Regions from separate parts of the Homo sapiens genome. Here region 1 is linked to region 2. The links are contacts of gene promoters, found by promoter capture Hi-C in human tissues and cell types (Jung and others, 2019). All regions are on one chromosome and are shown on one strand. The core of a region is centred on a gene start or on the middle of the fragment in contact, and the rest is flanking DNA. Distances in the headings are between cores, read along the strand shown. Region 1 overlaps ADNP (activity dependent neuroprotector homeobox). Region 2 holds the start of CEBPB (CCAAT enhancer binding protein beta).

Region 1 (3,741 bases), core at 626-3,125, 730 kb before region 2:
AAAGATTTAATTTAAAAGCATACACGTAATCTAAAAGAGTCATGCATTATTTGACCAGCTGTTAGAATTAAAAATGAATCTGCATATCCTAATACCCTCTTCAGTAAGGGTATAGATTTGTAATTGAGTCACTTAGCTGTGGGTTGTGTTTATATGTCACTTCTCATGTGACTGTGATGACTTTAATAAGGATGTGCTGCTTAAGTGTAAAGGCCCCCTTGCTGGCCTTTATGGTATTATAGTATTGGTGGCTTGTCTGTTTTATTTTCCAAGCACTTTATAAACTATTCCCAATTTTCTCAGGACTATCCTTGTTTCACAAGTAGGGAAATCAAGGCACTACCACATACAATGATGAAATGAGCCACAGAGTATGTCTGGGCTGGTTCCCAGGCCTGTGCTTGCAACACAGGCCTTTATGGTGCTCTTGTAAGCTGTTTGGCTAATGGGGGCTCACATGAATGCTTCCCATTTCACAGTGAGGTTTTATGCTTCCATGTGAGCTTAAACCCAAGGATTCCAATGGCGTCTACATGTAAAGAAGCTAGCCACACCCCCAGCAGGGAGAGTATGGGTGTAAATTGTGCAGGTGGCAGTTAATTGGAGTAGCATATTTCTGCTGGGAAGTTAACTGTATAAGAATCTAAAAAGAAACGTTGTTTATGTTCCCTTTTCTTTTCCCAGTTTTTTAGTTTAAGACAGTCAGTCTGTCCTGAGCAGTTACTTTTTTCTTAGATAATTGCTGGCTTTTACCCTTTCTTTTTCTGAATCCTTCATGCTCCATTTAAGAGCTTGTGGAAACCTGTGCTTCAGTTGACAATCTGTAAAGCTCTGCTCTTCTGGTGGAAGCTCATGACCTGAGAACCTTTTGAGTGGTCTCTTTTGAGAAACTCCTGTCTAGTGGAAATATGGTGGAATTTATTAAAATTTTCAATTCGAATTATAAATTTAGGTTGACAGAATCCTTGCTCTTGTGAAAGAAGTGAGCTGAGACTGGGAGTATCCAAATGCAAGAAGTGCTCAGAATCCTGCTTCAAGATCAGTTACACTTAAAAACAGCAACAAGAGGATGGGTGCGGTGGCTTACATCTGTAATCCCAGCACTTTGGGAAGCCAAGGCTGGCGGGTCACCTGAGGTCAGGAGTTCAAGACCAGCCTGGCCAACATGGTGAAACCCCATCTCTACTAAAAATACAAAAGTTATCCTGGTGTGGTGGCACTCACATGTAGTCTCAGCTACTTGGGAGGCTGAGGCAGGAGAATCACTTGAACCTGGGAGGCGGAGGTTGCAGTGAGCCAAGATGGCACCACTGCACTCTAGCCTGGGTGACAGAGTGAGACTCAGTCTCAAAAAAAAATAAAAATAAAAAACAGCAACCAAAAAAAATGCAAATAAAACTTCTCTGAGGAAAGTGTGAAAACTTGAGCCATCAAGTGGCAAAACCTGGTACAAGAACGCTTTTGAAAAGCTACCTTCGGTGAAGCCTTGATCCTGGGAAATGGCTTCGAAAAACTTGAGAACATAGTTTAAATATTCTGTTACTCAAGAATAGTGAAAGAAATATATTTCCTATTGTGGGAAATTATTTCTGAGTAGTTTCGGTAGAGCATAAAAATGTATTATTAGGGGATCAAAATAACGTTTTATGTCATTTAGATACAAAGACTTGGCATGCTTCTGAAATAATTTATAAATGGACATATCTGCGTGTCCTCTTGTGGTGTTGTGATACATACTGGTTTTCATCCACCACGGTTCCTGGCTCATAACACCCATAACCCCATTACCGTGTTTTGTTATAATATAGGGTACGTTAGGTCTCAGAAAATAATCTCTGATCTTCTCCTGCTCTCCTTACACGTGTCCCAAGGCAAGATTCTGATCTTTACCCAGCTTTCTGATTGTAGGTCTTGAGATCCTCTCTAGAGAGAGGGTGTTGGCCCTATACCCCGGGGAAGGGAAGTAAGGTTTCCTATATGAAGCTTTTATAAAAACCCAGGAGGGCCAGGCGCGGTGGCTCACGCCTGTAATCCCAGCATTTTGGGAGGCTGGGGGCGAGCAAATCACAAGTTTAGGAGTTTGAGACCAGCCTGGCCATCGTGGTGAAACCCCATCTCTACTAAAAATACAAAAAAAATTAGCTGGGTTTAGTGGTGGGGGCCTATAATCCCAGCTACTCAGGAGGCTGAGGCTGGAGAATTGCTCAAACCCGGGAGGCAGAGGTTACAGTGAGGCGAGATTGCACCACTGCACTCCAGCCTGGGGGACAGAGTGAGATTCTGTCTTTAAAAAAAAAAAAAAAAAACGCAGGAGGACTGGGTTCAGAGAGCTTCCAGATAGTTGAACACACCTGGAGGGTGGCGCCCCCAGAGAGGGTATGGAAGCCCAGTGCCCTTACGCATTTCTTTATCTGTACTTTTTATAATAAACCGGTAAACATAAGTGTTTCCCCAAGTTTTGTGAGATGCTCCAGCAAATTAATAGAACTCAAGGAGGGGGTCTTGGGAACCCCAGCTTGAAGTGTCAGTCAGAAGTTCTGGAGGCCCAGACTTACAGTTGGAGTCTGAAGAAGGAGAGAGCAGTTTTGGGGACTGAGCCCCCATCTTGTGGAATATGACACTGTATCCAGGTAGACAGTGTCAGAACCAAATTAGAGGATACTCAGCTGGTGTCCGCTGCTTGGGAAAAAACCCTACACGTTTGGTCACAGAAGACAACTTCACGACTTCTGTGTGGTGTGAGGGCAGAGGAAAAACAAAGTTTGAGAGTTTTCCCCTAAAGCACCCCTTAAGGGCTACTTGTGAATTATTTCCCTTTTTCACATTGATCTTAAGCCAGATTGTCCACTTACAGCGACAGCAAGTGGCTGTATGCCTGTGGAGTTCTTATGTAGGCAGTGGAGTGCTAGAATCACTCTTTATGCTGTGTCCCTGCCTTGCTGCAATACCTGTTTAGAGTGAAGTAAACTGGGAAGTGCTCCTCACCTCACACTCTCCCTAAATCTAAATTGGTATATTATAAAGTATCCTCAGTCTGTTTTTCTTGTTTAAGTACCGAGGCATCTTCCCCCGCTTTCAAATACAATTTTAGGTGAACTCTTAAATTGATGAAGGGTCGGGGGGCCAGACCTCTGGCTGCCCAGCTTTCACCTTGTCCCTCAGGCATCATCTTCCCTCTGTTTGTATACATATCTTAAACTCTTAGAGGAGTTCAGCCTGAAAACAACTGGTTCTACTGGTGTACTGGAAATTCTGGTGGTCACTGCTAGAATTCTTGCCTGAAATCTGAATACGGAAAGTATCAGGATAAGCAGCAACACAGTAGCAGTTTTCCAGTTGTGGGCACCAGTCTTGTAGTCTGAAAATCTTCCTAAAAGACCAGTGACTCCACATATTTTTTAAAACTTAAGATACGCAAAATCTAGATGACACCTTTATGTTTCTACATAACTGTAAGTCACCTGGGTTTATTTAAGATAGTTGCAGATGTTCAGTTGCCTAAATATTTTAAGTGTCACTGAGCTTGTTAAGAATATGCAAACCTGAGTATGAATGGCTCACACAGATGTAAAATATTGTATAAAAACACTACTGTGCATGATGCATTGTAATGTGTACAGGAACAGATGTTGTTATGGCAACCACATCTGATTCTCAGTCATAATAGTTTGAGCTTTTTGGAGAGGTTATGCCCTGGTGTGAACTCAGAATTTTGAAAGTGATTATTTTAGTATCTCATCT
Region 2 (3,568 bases), core at 998-3,497:
ACACAGGGCAGGGGTCACAGACCTCCCAGCCCTTCCAAACCCAAGCCTGACACTCGGGACCAGCCAGAGGCTCCGGAATCTCTTCTCAAGCAGGGTTCCCAGCCACCCGTCCCGGCGCCTAGGGGCTCTGAGTCAGCCTGAATGCCTGACCCATTACTCTTCTCCCCTTTCCCCCGGGGCTGGAACCCCATCTCAAGCAGACCCTGTGTGTGTGGGAGGGGGAGTAGCAGAGGAGGCAGAAAAACCAGCTGCAACACCCCCACCCAACCACCAAAACCTCCAAAAATAACAGCAGCCCCCCACACACAACCCCCTACACACCAGAAACGCAAAAACAAAATCCTACAAATCCAAAATAAAGTAAAAAAATAAAAAACAAAAGCCAATTACTGCCCCCAAAAGGCTTTGTAACCATTCTCAAAAAAAAGTTTATTAAAAGTGTTCTTAATGCTTGAAACGGAAAAGATTCCCAAAATATACAGACGCCTCTTTTCTCATAGAAATAGATTATTTTTTATAATACAAAAAAAGACCAAAAAACAAAACAAAACAAAACATCAACAGCAACAAGCCCGTAGGAACATCTTTAAGCGATTACTCAGGGCCCGGCTGACAGTTACACGTGGGTTGCGTCAGTCCCGTGTACACACGCGTTCAGCCATGTTTAAACCGATTGCATCAACTTCGAAACCGGCCCGCCCGCCGGCGCCTGGAGAGGGGCAGAGGGAGAAGCAGAGAGTTTATCATTCATCTGTACACATAGACGTTTCTTCTTTAAATAACACCACGGGCGGGAGCCCCATCTGCATGTGCGGTTGGTTTGGACAAAAATATAGATATATATATATAATAAAATATTAAAATTACCGACGGGCTCCCCGCGCTGCCAAGTGCCCCAGTGCCAAAGTTTTGCCGGCGCCGCCGGGGGCGGGGGCGAGGGCGCGGGCGCGGGCGCTCCCCGGAGTCTCAGCCCCGGCCGGCAGGGGGACGCGCGCGGGGGCCGCGCTAGCAGTGGCCGGAGGAGGCGAGCAGGGGCTCGGGCAGCTGCTTGAACAAGTTCCGCAGGGTGCTGAGCTCGCGCGACAGCTGCTCCACCTTCTTCTGCAGCCGCTCGTTCTCGGCCGTGAGCTCCAGGACCTTGTGCTGCGTCTCCAGGTTGCGCATCTTGGCCTTGTCGCGGCTCTTGCGCACGGCGATGTTGTTGCGCTCGCGCCGGATCTTGTACTCGTCGCTGTGCTTGTCCACGGTCTTCTTGGCCTTGCTCTTGACCTGCGAGGGCGCCGGCGCGGCCCCCGCGTAGCAGGCGGTCGGGGGCGCCTTGGCGTCAGCGGGGCTCGGCGTGCCGGGCGGGCTGGACGAGGAGGACGTGGAGAGGCTCCCGCTGCTGCCGCTCGGCACCGCCTGGTAGCCGAGGTAAGCGCGCAGCGCGTACGGGAAGCCCGCCGCCATGCCTGCGCCGCCGCCCGGCGCCCCGGCCTCCTCCTTCCGCTTGCAGTCCGCGGGCTCGAAGCCCGGCTCCGCCTTGAGCTCGGCGGGCGGCGGCGGCGGCGGGGGCGGTGGGTGCAGGGGCGCGAAGCAGCCGGGGTGCAGCGCGCCCTTGGCGGCCCCCAGGCGCCCCAGGCTCACGTAGCCGTACTCGGCCGGCTTCTTGCAGTTCTTGCCCCCGTAGTCGTCGGAGAAGAGGTCGGAGAGGAAGTCGTGGTGCTGCCCGGAGGAGGCGGGCGCGGGGGCGGGCGCGGGCGGAGCCGCCTCGAAGGTGTCCGTGGCCGTGGCGGGCGCCGGGGCCTGCGGCGCGCCCAGCGGCTCCAGGTACGGGCTGAAGTCGATGGCGCGCTCGTGGTCGCCGATGCTGCCCAGCTCGCCGGCGGGGGGGCGCGGCCCGGGTCTGGCCGCGGGGGGCGCCGCGGGGGCCGCCTTGCCGCCGTACGCAGCAGCCAAGCAGTCCGCCTCGTAGTAGAAGTTGGCCACTTCCATGGATTTAAAGGCAGGCGGCGGCGGCGGCAGGGGGAGACATGCTGGGTCCCAGGCCACCAGGCGTTGCATGAACGCGGGTGCCCGGGGAGGGGGCCTGGGGCTGCCCGCTCCGGCCGGCCCGCAGGTGGCGCGGCCTCCCTGCTCTGAGCTGTCGCCGCTGCGTCGCTGCTGCTGCTGCCGCCGCTGCCGGGGTGGCCGCTATTAGTGAGGGGGCTGGTGGCTGGACCCTCGGGTGGGTCCCCTTCCCAGTCCCGTGCGCGGCTCTGACTCGCTAAAGTTTCTCCTGAGCCCGGTTATTTATAAGGGCGGCCCGTAGCAACCGCTGCGTCACGCCGGCCCCTCCCGCCGCGCCGCCGGGACGCGAAGGACACGGCCGCGGCCGCCCGAGACCCCCGGGAGGACGGCGGCAGGGCGCAGCGGAGGGACCGGGCACCCGGAGCGCGTTTTCGGGGGGCCCCCGGGACGCAGGGGCGGCCTCACGCCCCCTGCCCACCCCCGCCCGGCCGCCCCGGGATTGGGAGCGAGAGGGGGCGGTGCGACCCCGCCCCCGGACCGCCCCTCTGGGCTGGAGGCTGTCCTGGAAGGCGGGGGAATCGGAGGAGGGGGCGACCTGATCGCCTTCCCCCCGAGACGCGGCCCCGGCCCGCCCCCTGCTGGAGGAGGCGGAGGTTTCAGGAGGGCCGAGCAGAGCCCCGACGGCCGACCAGGGTCGGCTCCCCGGGCCGAACCCTGGAGACCCCAGCCCGCAGCTCTAGCTCCAGGAGAAGCGACCCATCTCCGTGGCCCTTCCTCCCGTAAACTCCCACCTCCTCCCCAGGTCCCCGGCTTTAGAAAGAAGACTTGACGCCTGTGACGACTCCCCTCTTAAGCCACAGACAATATGAGGACCCCGGGGGTCGGCGCGACCGGGCAGGATCGCGCCCCGCTTGGGGCTGGACCCTGGTCCACGGAGCCCCGCCCCTAGCCCCGCCCACCACACCTGCCGCCTGCTCGAGGCTTGGACACGCCCGGGTCTTCTCTTGCCCCGCGCTGCGCCACCCGACCTGGGCCCTGGGATGGGGCAGGGGCGGGGGGTGCTCGGCCCTGCCACACTGTGTGACCTTGGGTGAGTCACTTCACTTCTCCCAGCTGCAATCCATGAAGGGTGTCGCTACTGTCAGTGGTGGTGGCATTGTTCCCACCAGACTCCCAAACCTAAGGCTTACGTTGTGGGCTGCACATCAGAGAGAACGGGACCCCCACGGATTGTGCCAGTGGAGGCCCAGAGAGAGCATGGCGTGGCATACCAAGGTCACATGGCCGCATGTCCCCCATTCATCCCAAATGAAATGCCCTCATCTGAGCCCTAAGACCTATTGCCAGTCCCAGAGGCCAAAAACTTCTGTTTCTGAAGTTGCTAGGGAGGGACTTAAGCGAGGCCTCACGGGAGGGGGTGGTATGCAGGAAAGAGAAGGAAAGAGAAAGATAAGTTTTTACCAAGTCCCTGCCCTGTGCTTACGGTGGGCCTGCACCCCGAGGTTCAACTTTTTTCACCCCACCAGGAAGATGCTTTTGCTGCTGCCATTTCACAGACGGGAAAGCGACAACGGCCCGC

Evidence for each region. The method cuts DNA at HindIII sites, captures the fragments that hold promoters and counts their contacts. A contact is called where the count stands out against the background at its distance.
Region 1: a contact is called between a fragment that was not itself captured here and the fragment with the promoter of CEBPB in region 2, in 1 of the 25 tissues and cell types used here (dorsolateral prefrontal cortex).

The regions. Positions count from the first base shown.
Region 1 is chr20:50,921,144-50,924,884 of GRCh38, reverse strand. The region is part of intron 2 of ADNP (activity dependent neuroprotector homeobox); the gene reads left to right. Among named protein-coding and RNA genes, the nearest start is that of ADNP-AS1, 8.0 kb to the left of the region's middle. The HindIII fragment of the contact is 7,393 bases long and covers 1-3,741 here.
Region 2 is chr20:50,189,509-50,193,076 of GRCh38, reverse strand. It overlaps CEBPB (CCAAT enhancer binding protein beta), which reads right to left and starts at 2,247. Exons shown (of 1, transcript NM_005194.4): 1 at 409-2,247. The coding sequence starts at 2,043. The coding sequence ends at 1,006. It overlaps CEBPB-AS1 (CEBPB antisense RNA 1), which reads left to right and starts at 1,008. Exons shown (of 7, transcript NR_125739.1): 1 at 1,008-1,413; 2 at 1,655-1,809; 3 at 2,792-3,079; 4 at 3,516-3,568. RefSeq lists silencers at 905-1,014, 1,435-1,874, 2,015-2,224, 2,051-2,345, 2,305-2,714. The HindIII fragment of the contact is 25,644 bases long and covers 1-3,568 here.